3 separate regions of the Homo sapiens genome follow, and regions 1 and 3 are each linked to region 2. The links are contacts of gene promoters, found by promoter capture Hi-C in blood cells and fetal thymus (Javierre and others, 2016). All regions are on one chromosome and are shown on one strand. The core of a region is centred on a gene start or on the middle of the fragment in contact, and the rest is flanking DNA. Distances in the headings are between cores, read along the strand shown. Region 1 overlaps B4GALNT1 (beta-1,4-N-acetyl-galactosaminyltransferase 1). Region 2 holds the start of DCTN2 (dynactin subunit 2). Region 3 has its middle 14 kb from the start of B4GALNT1.

The links. Contacts are between HindIII fragments. The CHiCAGO score rates a contact against its expected background, and 5 or more counts as called.
Region 1: a contact is called between a fragment that was not itself captured here and the fragment with the promoter of DCTN2 in region 2, in 9 of 17 cell types (erythroblasts, M2 macrophages, M0 macrophages and 6 more). The highest score is 8.2, in erythroblasts.
Region 3: a contact is called between a fragment that was not itself captured here and the fragment with the promoter of DCTN2 in region 2, in 1 of 17 cell types (M2 macrophages). The highest score is 5.9, in M2 macrophages.

The regions. Positions count from the first base shown.
Region 1 is chr12:57,627,057-57,630,905 of GRCh38, reverse strand. It overlaps B4GALNT1 (beta-1,4-N-acetyl-galactosaminyltransferase 1), which reads left to right. Exons shown (of 11, transcript NM_001478.5): 5 at 388-428; 6 at 574-754; 7 at 1,760-1,858; 8 at 2,003-2,193; 9 at 2,644-2,784; 10 at 3,048-3,288. Among named protein-coding and RNA genes, the nearest start is that of B4GALNT1, 4.2 kb to the left of the region's middle. The HindIII fragment of the contact is 2,137 bases long and covers 206-2,342 here.
Region 2 is chr12:57,544,796-57,549,245 of GRCh38, reverse strand. DCTN2 (dynactin subunit 2) reads left to right here and starts at 2,054. Exons shown (of 14, transcript NM_001261413.2): 1 at 2,054-2,218; 2 at 3,150-3,218. The coding sequence starts at 2,183. RefSeq lists an enhancer at 1,786-1,925. The HindIII fragment of the contact is 9,827 bases long and covers 1-4,351 here.
Region 3 is chr12:57,645,189-57,649,022 of GRCh38, reverse strand. No RefSeq gene overlaps it. Among named protein-coding and RNA genes, the nearest start is that of B4GALNT1, 14 kb to the right of the region's middle. The HindIII fragment of the contact is 2,383 bases long and covers 792-3,174 here.

The DNA.
Region 1 (3,849 bases), core at 25-2,524, 82 kb before region 2:
TGGGAGATGATTGGAATGGGAGGTGGGAACCTCTGATGAATGGGGGACTTAAGCTCAAACGGCGGCTTAGGAGGTGGGAAGTGAGGACAGAAGGGACTCTAGGAATTTCAGAAGACTGTAACTGGGGAGTTTTGGGGGAAATAATCTATTCTTTGCTGACTAACCATTGGTTAGGTGGTGGTCAGGGCAGGCCATAGGGCAAGCTTTGACGGGACGGGCTCAAAAATCAGTCACTGTAGGCTATGTTATACAGTGTGCCCTGCTGAGGCCTCAATAAGAAGAATAGGTGGAAAGTTCTCTATTGTGTGTGGTGACAGCAGGGAGAGAAAATGAGAAAGAATTCAGGGCTGCCTATGTGATTCTGATCCCCCCACTCCTTTCTCCTAGGGCTGAGCCTTCAGGCAGCTTCTGGTCAGGAGGTATACCAGGTGAGAGAAAACAAGAAGGCAAGGAGGCCAAGTAGGCATCAAGAATGCTGGGAGGGAGGCAGGGCTACTAAGGGAAGGATGGGCGAATCAGGGAGGCAAGAAGTGGGTCTGGGGCCTAACCCTGCACTCTCCAATCCCCTCCTAGGTGAACCTGACTGCCTCCCTAGGCACCTGGGACGTGGCAGGGGAAGTGACTGGAGTTACTCTCACTGGAGAGGGTCAGGCAGATCTCACCCTTGTCAGCCCAGGGCTGGACCAACTCAACAGGCAACTACAACTGGTCACTTACAGCAGCCGAAGCTACCAGACCAACACAGCAGACACAGGTGCAAGGCCTGGGTGGAGAGACGGGCAGGCTGGGCAAACAGAGAAGAACCAGAAAGGCTGGAGTGGGCAAATGGCAGAGGGCATGGGAGGCATCTGGGCTATGGCCAGAGCTGTCCAGCCACACAATGGGTGCTTCAACTGGACCAGCAGGGCCAGAGGGAGAAAGGGGGCCTTTGTTCATCTGGGGCTGGAGCAGGCCAGAGGGAAACCCGAGCCTTGGGTGTGTCTCCCCTTTAGGCCAACTGTGGGGGGCCCCAGGAAGAGACTTGTCTAAGGAGTTAGAAGACTATATTCCCAACCCACCCCTTACTAGAGGGCAAAGGTCTTTACTTTCCTGAGATCCCATTTCTCTTCCAGCAAAAGAGGCCTAAAAGCCCTCTTTGCTTCTCCCCAAAGCTGGTTTGTTGCACTAAGTTTGCTTCCACCTTAGGGCCTTTGCACTTTCTATTTTCTCAGCCTGGAATGCTCTTCCCCAGATTTTTGCAGACTGGCTTCTTCTTGTCATTTAGATCTCAGTTCAAATGCCTCCTCTTCACTATCACATTACTTGTTTGTCTTATTTTCCACTCAATACTTACCAGTATCTGAATTTTTTAATTTACTTAGCCTGGCACCAGACTGACTAGGTTGCTATCAGTTTTGTTGCTTAATAGTTGTGTAAATGTGGCAAGTTACTTTTCTGTGTCTCAGCTTTTTTTTCTGTTGTAGGAATCTACTTAATAGGGCTATCATGGGGATAAAATGAGTGCATATATTTAAGGTAATTTTTTAACGGGTCTGGCACATAGTAAGTGCTCAATAAAGATTAGCTTTTACTTAAAATTTTCTTTGTTGTTTTTTCTCCTACCCATTAGAATGTAAGTTCCATAAAGGTAAGAACCTTCTGTTCTTGTCCACCAAGGCCTAGAAAGGTGGGACACAGAGTAGGCACTTAAATATTGATTGGCTGAAAACAGAATGTTATCCCACCCTTCAGGGTCAAATGCCATGTCCTTTCTTCCCAGTCCGGTTCTCCACCGAGGGACATGAGGCTGCTTTCACTATCCGCATAAGACACCCGCCCAACCCTCGGCTGTACCCACCTGGGTCTCTACCCCAGGGAGGTGAGGCTGGTAGGGGCAGGGACATATTAGAACCAGCCTTGGTGGGGAGCAAGTTGGGAGAGGGCAGTCCTGGGAGGGGATATCTACCTGTTCCCCTCTCCCAACCCTCCTTGTCTGCACCCAACCCTGTGCCCCCAATCTCAGCCCAGTACAACATCAGCGCTCTAGTCACGATTGCCACCAAGACCTTCCTCCGTTATGATCGGCTACGGGCTCTCATCACCAGTATCCGCCGCTTCTACCCAACGGTTACCGTGGTCATCGCTGACGACAGCGACAAGCCAGAGCGCGTTAGTGGCCCCTACGTGGAACACTATCTCATGCCCTTCGGCAAGGTGTGCAGCTAGCAGGCTGAACGGCAGGCCAGAGGACTCCCGCAGGGGGTGTGCCCTCAATCTGCAGCCTCCAGGGTAGTGATTCGAGGACCACCTGCCTCAGAATCATGGGGTGCCTGTTAAGCATGAGGATTCCTGGAATGTAAGCTTCGTGGGAGCAGGAAATTCTCTCTGAATTCTTAGAATGGTGCTTAGTGCCTAATGGCATTCAATAAAATAGCTGATGAATGAATAAATAAATGCACACGGAAATTAAACGCATTCTAAGACCACTGACTTGGAACCTCTGTGGGGATCTGCATTTCTTTTACCTAGCTCCTGGCCTTTCGAAAGCACTCAAAAGTCTGGAGAAGAATACAAGCTGAGAAGGGTCGGGGGAGAGAAAGAAAGGTGGCAGAGGGCCATGTCCTATTTCTGCAGCCTCCCCAACCACACACACCTTTCTGCCAGGGCTGGTTCGCAGGCCGGAACCTGGCCGTGTCTCAAGTAACCACCAAGTACGTGCTGTGGGTGGACGACGACTTCGTCTTCACGGCGCGGACGCGGCTGGAGAGGCTTGTGGACGTGCTGGAGCGGACGCCGCTGGACCTGGTAGGGCAGGGGCTGCAGGATGTGGGGGTGGAGAAGGGCCTTGAACAGGCTAAGGCCACAGCGGGGGCGCTGCGGCCAGGAACGGCCAGCCCTAGGACAAAGAGAGAACCACGAAGTGGGGCCTGGGAACTGTCTGGGTCCTGCAGGGGTGAAGCGGAAGAGGATGGGGCAGGGGTACCCCCGAAGGCACCGGAGCGCAGACCTTGACCCCTTCGGGTCCCCTATCCCAGGCCCGCCTGGAGGCAACCTCCCTCTCCCTGCAGGTGGGGGGCGCGGTGCGCGAGATCTCCGGCTTTGCCACCACTTATCGGCAGCTGCTGAGCGTGGAGCCCGGCGCCCCAGGCCTCGGGAACTGCCTCCGGCAAAGGCGCGGCTTCCACCACGAGCTCGTCGGCTTCCCAGGCTGCGTGGTCACCGACGGCGTGGTTAACTTCTTCCTGGCGCGGACTGACAAGGTGCGCGAGGTCGGTTTCGACCCCCGCCTCAGCCGCGTGGCTCATCTGGGTGAGTGGCACCCCCTCCCGGTCGACCCTGGCAGGAGCCCCACGGGGAGCTGGCGCACGGTCACGCGCCTCTCCTCCTAGGCTGCACCCGCGCCCAGCCGCCAGCGGGAACCCCAGAACAGTTCTGCAGTGATTTACCAAGACCTGCACCTGGGCGAGAGACAGCTCCCACCCTCTCCCAGCCCCGCATACTCTTTTTTTTTTTTTATAAATATATATATTTTTTGTTATACTTTAAGTTCTAGGGTACATGTGCACAACGTGCAGGTTTGTTACATGTGTATACATGTGCCATGTTGAATCTCCATTCCCAGCACAGCCGCTGGGCCCCCATAAGCTTCCCCATCACTGTTCCCGCCACCCCTGCTCTACTCCCAGGGCTTCCCCTAGTTCAGACCACAGTCGGTGCAACCCATCTGGCGTTTATTTAACCTCTGGGAGTAGGGGTAGGTTTTTCGATTTTCAAAGCACAAGTATATTGACTCCATTTACACAAGAGTAAGACTGAGACCCAGGGAGTTGATTTACATGCTCAGGGTCCTTAGAAACAAGCCTTTGCACA
Region 2 (4,450 bases), core at 805-3,304:
CAGGCAAATTCAGATACCTACGGGAGTGTGTGTTTTCTGTCTCAGTAACCATTGGAGGATAGAGTCCCAATACTTCAGCCCCCTTCCCTGGCCAAAAAAAAAAAGGTGTGGGGGAAGAAAAACGAAAGAAATGCCAAGCCCAGAGATTCCTTGTCCTTCCTTCCTTTGGGTCAGACTCCTGCTGCAGCCCCTGGAAAGAACCACCAAGAAGCTGGCCAAATTGATTTTTCTCCATGTCACAGGCCTCTGCTGGCCAACAGAGAGTTGGACTGCAGGAGTTGAGGTTCTAGGCAAAGAGGAAGGGCAGGGTGGATGGGAGAAGGAGGAGGAAAGGAAAGTTCTGCTCAGCAACTGTCTGGTGAGTGGTTAAGGTCACTTAAGACACTATGGGACAAAAGTAAGAGGCTGATAGCCTGGCCAGACAAGACCTAACTATTCAGAACTCAGGGGGTTTCCCACATTGGGGCTACACCTCTAACCTACCTTGAATCTTAAGGGAACTGAAAGAAAAGAGTCCAACATAAGGAATGGGACAGGAAAGCTGTAGGACTATGGAGAAAGGGATAGAGGCTTGGGGAGGAGCCAGGAGAAAGAAAGACAACGAGTTCCGAACTCAGGAACTCTCTAGTCACTTGGTTTGGCACAATTTCTAAGTGTTGCAGCATCCTGCAAGCTCAGGAAACATCCTGGGAAACATCCCATCCTTGGGTCCCCAGGGGCTCCAAGGTGGCATCTTTAGTAAAGGGGTTTCAAAATGCCAGTCCATGGAGGGTCACTGGTCAGAGACAAAAGTTCACTGAGTATGCCCTCACCTCCAAAAGAACAATGGTGAGTTTTTTTTTAATATAAAGATGGATTTGATAAGTTTCAAAGGACTATCTTTTATTCTGAGTGTGTCCTTCTTGCTTTTCTACCAAGTAATGATGGTGACAGTAAATAATAGGTTTTCTATTTGTAATATACTTACTTGATAAAATAAAAAGGCAAATCTTCAAGGTTTGTAGTTGTTTTAATTTTATTGAACGATGAAATTTAAAAGTCTGAGAACGGAAGGTAAGGTTGGTGAATAGGTACAAAAAATTAGAAAGTATAATAAGACCTACTATTTGATGGCACAATAGGGTGACTATAGTCAAGAATAACTCAACTGTACATTTTAAAATAACTTAAAGAGTAATTGGATTATTTGTAACTTAAAGGATAAATGCTTGAGAGGATGGATACCCTCTTCTCCATGATGTGCTTATTTCACATTGCATGCCTGTATCAAAATATCTCATGTGTCCCATAAATACATACACCTACTGTGTACCCACAAAATTGAAAAAATTGAAAAATAAATAAAAGTCTGAGAACTATTAACGAAGTAGTTAAGAGCCCAGAGAGTGTTCAGACAGACATGGAGACACCACTTACCTACTTATGAACTTCAGATAGAATTGCCAGATTTGAAAAACAAAAAACAAAAACAGGATGCCCAGTTAAATGTGAATTTCAGATACTTAATTTTTGGGGGGTTAGTATACCCACACACCACACACCACACACACACACCTACTTATTATCTGAAATTCAAATTATCTGAAAGCCCTTACTTGAGAAGATTGCCTAACTTTTTCATTCCTAACATACACTACGCGTTTACTAAATTTTACTTCTTGTTTTTATTTTGTTTTTATAATACACAGTATCAAGCAAACTTCTTGTTTTTGAAACCCCGGCTGTGTCACAGTATGACTACCTGTATCATTTAATCTAGTCATTTTATTCCTGGGAGCCCCAAACAGGAATTATAAATGTTCTTTCACTGACTTGCTGTAAAAGTGAGAGAAAAGGCTGTATGAAATAGCTCCCCAAGGTTCGTTATTGTCGCTCCCCGCCCAAGCTCCAGTACACCAAAACTACACATCCCACAATCCTAGGCGGCGTCCCCTGGCCATTACCTCATTCCCTGGCCTCGTTCTCCCCAATCCCGGCCTCTCCAGGGGTGTGGCAGCAGGGCTGTTCTCGCGACTTTTGCTTTACCCTTCTGCTGTGCTACTGCTGTCGCGAGACTTCCTGCTCATCTGCCGCTCCCTTTGCCGCCGCCTTAGCCCGGGACCCGAACCCAGCCTCTCCCCTACCCGAACACCGGCCCCGGCTCCACCGAGGCCCGGGTCCCCCAGCCCGTCTCGCCGCCGCCATGGCGGACCCTAAATACGCCGACCTTCCCGGCATTGTGAGTACAGGACCGGCCCCGGCTCCCCAGGACCGCGCCCCCGACCTCCCAAGGACCCCCAGCAGAAACCAGCCCGCGACCCCTCCCGCCTGCAGCCCATCCTCCGCCCAAGGGCTCCCGCCGCTCGTTCTCCGATCGGCCTCAGCACCCCCCGAACTCTTCTGACCCGACTGGGCCGGGCCGCCGGACGGCGCACCAGGCCCCCTTTCCGGCAGTCGCCGGTAGCTCGGCCCAGAAATCGACTCCGGGTACTGACCTCTTGTGCCTGAGTTTTTCCACCATCCGTGTCAACGCCTCCCATGTCCCCCCCAAATCTCTCCATAAGACCCCATCGCTACCCCAGACACACACACCAGACCACTTAACGATGGCCTTCATCCTGCCAAGGAAGAGGTTCTGCCATCTGGCAGAACCCTCTTGTGCCAGATGGGGAGCTCTATCCTTGAGGGAACCTATGCCCTCCCCCAGCCCCCACTCCCATGACAATCCTGGCGTGTACCTTCCTTTTGTGCTGCCCTGCCTGCTTCTCAAGGTGAGGGTTGGGACACAGGACCTTGAGTACTAAGGTCCTGAGTCACTCTCAATCCTTGTGCCAGGGTGGTGGTGTACGGGGCCTAATTGGAGGATAGCCTTCACCTTCTTTGGCAATAGTGATTGCCAAGGACCTGCCCGCCTCTAGATTTAGGGTAACATCGTTGCTATCACTTACACTCACCGTTTACTGTCAGGTCCCAATTGTTTCCGCTGTCATCCCTACCCCTTGAGACATGGGAACTGACATACTGTTGACTCACGGGGCAGGTGGAGGAGAAAGGACAGAACCCTGACATCACACCCCGCCTTCTCTGTTAGCTTATTCAAATGGAGTGGGGGAAGGGGTGTTGTTGGATGCTGGGTAGTGAGGTTGGGTGGTCACTGCTTCTACCTGCAGGCCAGGAATGAGCCAGATGTTTATGAAACTAGCGACCTACCTGAGGATGATCAAGCGGAGTTCGATGCGGTAAGAATGTGTGCTGCCACAGACTCCTCCGGACTCTGACCTTTCTCCCCTAGACAGGTCCTTCCCTTTCTCGGGGGAGCTACAGCAATAAGCGGGTATGCCAACCCCAGCCTGGGTGGTATATAGGTTGCAGGGCTTGCAAAGACCTTGCTGGGCTTGCAGCCACCAATGAGCAATGGCAGGAGGGAGAGTCAAGTCAGCGGAATTACAGCTAACAACATCTGTTTGCAAAGCCCTGATTCTTGGGCCTTTTAAATAAAATTGAAATATCTCAAAACAGGTTTGGAGCTAGTGACTTAGGCCCCTGGGTTCTAACCCATGGAAATGAATCATGAAGCCTGGGCACTTGTAATAAACTGCTACCAAGAACTAGACTTTGAAATATGGAGAAATACTTTTTCCATATGAATATCCAGTATCCATTGGGCAAGGAATTAAGAAAGTGATTCCAAGATTTTAGAGCAAAACAAATTTGAGGAAGAATGTAAATATTTCACATCAGCGGATGTGAGACTGTGGTTGCATTTTTAGATCCGAGAATTCTGAGGATGGAGTAATTAGGTACGGATACATTTTAACTGTGAGGGGAAACATTTAGTATGGTTTATTGAGTGTGTTCATTCTGTGGTTTTTTTTGTGCAATGCAGAGGAAGAAATGTCTCTGCCCCCAATGAGCCCCAGACTAATGGGGAATTAGGATACATATAGGAAACATATAGAAGGAAAAAAAAATTGAGTGAATGGAAATCAACATAGTAAAAACTCTGTTTAAGTGCCAAGAGGTGTGTTTATAGGATGTGTTTTAGGTTCTATTATTTCTGAAGACAGCTGGGCTGGGATCACATTGATGATGTGAGTTCTCAGTAAAGATGTGTCCAAGAGTCATTGCAATATGCAGGCTCAGTATGCTTGTCTGTAAGTCCTGTGGCTATGTCTGTGGGGCTGGTTAATTCTGGGGAATGCTGACTGCTGGCTTACAATGTGTGGCTTGGCGTACTCACTTATTTCTTATTTGACTCCCCCATGTGGAAGTGGTTCTTACATTGTGGGAAACACCTTCTCTGTCCCTTCTCCCAGTGGTGTGTTCCTTGTGGCTTCTGTATTTGCTGGCATGCCAATCTATCCCCTAAGCTTGAGTATCTTGGAGATAATGCAGATGATGTTGTTGCTCAAGGACCTGGGTGTGCACCTGTCACTCCAAGAGGCATCTTATAGGAAGCTGCCTCTGTCCT
Region 3 (3,834 bases), core at 734-3,233, 100 kb before region 2:
TCTGTTGATTTGGGGTGGAGAGTTCTGTAGATGTCTATTAGGTCCACTTGGTGCAGAGCTGAGTTCAATTCCTGGGTATCCTTGTTGACTTTCTGTCTCGTTGATCTGTCTAATGTTGACAGTGGGGTGTTAAAGTCTCCCATTATTATTGTGTGGGAGTCTAAGTCTCTTTGTAGGTCACTCAGGACTTGCTTTATGAATCTGGGTGCTCCTGTATTGGGTGCATATATATTTAGGATAGTTAGCTCTTCTTGTTGAATTGATCCCTTTACCATTATGTAATGGCCTTCTTTGTCTCTTTTGATCTTTGTTGGTTGAAAGTCTGTTTTATCAGAGACTAGGATTGCAACCCCTGCCTTTTTTTGTTTTCCATTTGCTTGGTAGATCTTCCTCCATCCTTTTATTTTGAGCCTATGTGTGTCTCTGCACGTGAGATGGGTTTCCTGAATACAGTACACTGATGGGTCTTGACTCTTTATCCAGTTTGCCAGTCTGTGTCTTTTAATTGGAGCATTTAGTCCATTTACATTTAAAGTTAATATTGTTATGTGTGAATTTGATCCTGTCATTATGATGTTAGCTGGTGATTTTGCTCATTAGTTGATGCAGTTTCTTCCTAGTCTCGATGGTCTTTACATTTTGGCATGATTTTGCAGCGGCTGGTACTGGTTGTTCCTTTCCATGTTTAGCGCTTCCTTCAGGAGCTCTTTTAGGGCAGGTCTGGTGGTCACAAAATCTCTCAGCATTTGCTTGTCTGTAAAGTATTTTATTTCTCCTTCACTTATGAAGCTTAGCTTGGCTGGATATGAAATTCTGGGTTGAAAATTCTTTTCTTTAAGAATGTTGAATATTGGCCCCCACTCTCTTCTGGCTTGTAGGGTTTCTGCCAAGAGATCCGCTGTTAGTCTGATGGGCTTCCCTTTGAGGGTAACCTGACCTTTCTCTCTGGCTGCCCTTAACATCTTTTCCTTCATTTCAACTTTGGTGAATCTGACAATTATGTGTCTTGGAGTTGCTCTTCTCGAGGAGTATCTTTGTGGCGTTCTCTGTATTTCCTGAATCTGAACGTTGGCCTGCCTTGCTAGATTGGGGAAGTTCTCCTGGATAATATCCTGCAGAGTGTTTTCCAACTTGGTTCCATTCTCCACATCACTTTCAGGTACACCAATCAGACGTAGATTTGGTCTTTTCACATAGTCCCATATTTCTTGGAGGCTTTCCTCATTTCTTTTTATTCTTTTTTCTCTAAACTTCCCTTCTCGCTTCATTTCATTCATTTCATCTTCCATTGCTGACACCCTTTCTTCCAGTTGATTGCATCGGCTCCTGAGGCTTCTGCATTCTTCACGTAGTTCTCGAGCCTTGGTTTTCAGCTCCATCAGCTCCTTTAAGCACTTCTCTGTATTGGTTATTCTAGTTATACATTCTTCTAAATTTTTTTCAAAGTTTTCAACTTCTTTGCCTTTGGTTTGAATGTCCTCCCGTAGCTCAGAGTAATTTGATCGTCTGAAGCCTTCTTCTCTCAGCTCGTCAAAGTCATTCTCCATCCAGGTTTGTTCCATTGCTGGTGAGGAGCTGCGTTCCTTTGGAGGAGGAGAGGCACTCTGATTTTTAGAGCTTCCAGTTTTTCTGTTCTGTTTTTTCCCCATCTTTGTGGTTTTATCTACTTTTGGTCTTTGATGATGGTGATGTACAGATGGGTTTTTGGTGTGGATGTCCTTTCTGTTTGTTAGTTTTCCTTCTAACAGACAGGACCCTCAGCTGCAGGTCTGTTGGAATACCCTGCCGTGTGAGGTGTCAGTGTGCCCCTGCTGGGGGGTGCCTTCCAGTTAGGCTGCTCGGGTGTCAAGGGTCAGGGACCCACTTGAAAAGGCAGTCTGCTGGTTCTCAGATCTCCAGCTGCGTGCTGGGAGAACCACTGCTCCCTTCAAAGCTGTCAGACAGGGACATTTAAGTCTGCAGAGGTTACTGCTGTCTTTTTGTTTGTCTGTGCCCTGCCCCCAGAGGTGGAGCCTACAGAGGCAGGCAGGCCTCCTTGAGTTGTGGTGGGCTCCACCCAGTTCGAGCTTCCTGGCTGCTTTGTTTACCTAAGCAAGCCTGGGCAATGGCGGGCGCCCCTCCCCCAGCCTCGCTGCCGCCTTGCAGTTTGATCTCAGACTGCTGTGCTAGCAATCAGCGAGATTCCGTGGGCATAGGACCCTCTGAGCCAGGTGTGGGATATAGTCTCGTGGTGCGCCATTTTTTAAGCCGGTCTGAAAAGCGCAATATTCGGGTGGGAGTGACCCGATTTTCCAGGTGCATCCGTCACCCCTTTCTTTGACTCAGAAAGGGAACTCCTTGACCCCTTGCGCTTCCCAGGTGAGGCAATGCCTCGCTCTGCTTTGGCTCGCGCACCCACTGGCCTGCACCCACTGTCTGGCACTCCCTAGTGAGATGAACCCAGTACCTCAGATGGAAATGCAGAAATCACCCGTCTTCTGCGTCAGTCACGCTGGGAGCTGTAGACTGGAGCTGTTCCTATTCAGCCATCTTGGCTCCTGCCCTCAGCAAACCAAAACTTAATAATAATATGATAACTTGATCATGTAAAAGTTTTTTTTTAGGCTGGGTGCAGTGGCTCACACCTGTAATCACAACACTTTGGGAGGCAAAGTCAGGCAGATCATCCGAGGTCAGTTCAAGACCAGCCTGACCAATATGGAGAAACCCCATCTCTACTAAAAATACAAAATTAACTGGGCATGGTGGCGCATGCCTGTAATCCCAGCTACTCGGGAGGCTGAGACAGGAGAATCGCTTGAACCGGGAGGCAAAGGTTGCAGTGAGCTGCGATTGTGCCATTGCACTCCAGCCTAGGCAACAAGAGCAAAACTCCATCTCAAAAAAGAAAAAAAAAAAAAAGTTTTTTAAAATAAATCCTCTCTGTGTGACTTAGACCATTCACGACATGCTTGGACTTTCTGGTTTGGCCTGAACACCCTTCTTTTTTAAACAACCAGTTATTTACTTTACTCCAGGACTAAATTTACCATACAAGATTCTTTCTCATATGAAATTATTTCTTTTTCAGCTTTCTTACCAATAAAAAAACTCTTCATTTTTATAACTTATTTTACATTTCTCTTATTTCATGGTTCCTTTTACCTTGTTTTACACATGACCTTTAAATAAGCTTTGAATTAGATGAAAAGTGTTCACATTTTTTAAAAGGACACACTTTTTTAAAAAGAATGTTTTCTTACAAATATATTTTTATTGGAAAATACCCAAATAATGAAATATCTATTATGTAATTTAATATAATTTAGATTCTAAATTATGACAAGTTTGTCTATAAGTATGTATCCAATTACAATTACCTAATTATTTTATTTTAATTGTTTTTTGTTTGTTTGTTTTTGAGACAGTGTCTCACTCTGTCACCCAGGTTGGAGTGTAGGGACATGATCTTGGCTCACTGCAACCTCTGCCTCCTGGGTTCAAGCAATTCTTCTGCCTCAGCCTCCTGAATAGCTGGAATTACAGGCATGCGCCACCACACCTGGCTAATTTTTTTTTGTATTTTTAGTAGAGGTGGGGTTTTGCCATGTTGGCCAGGCTAGTCTAAAATTGCTGACCTCAAGTGATCCACCTGTCTCGGCCTCCCAAAGTGCTGGGATTACAGGTGTGAGACACCATGCCTGGCCTAATTTTTTATCTAGATTATTTATGAAAACTGCAATAGTCATTGTTTAAAGTTATGGAACCACCATTGCAAAATTATAACTGAGACAGTGAAAAGATTTAACCTAACTGACTCCATCTTGCTTCTAACCTCCAAACTGCCCTTGCTCA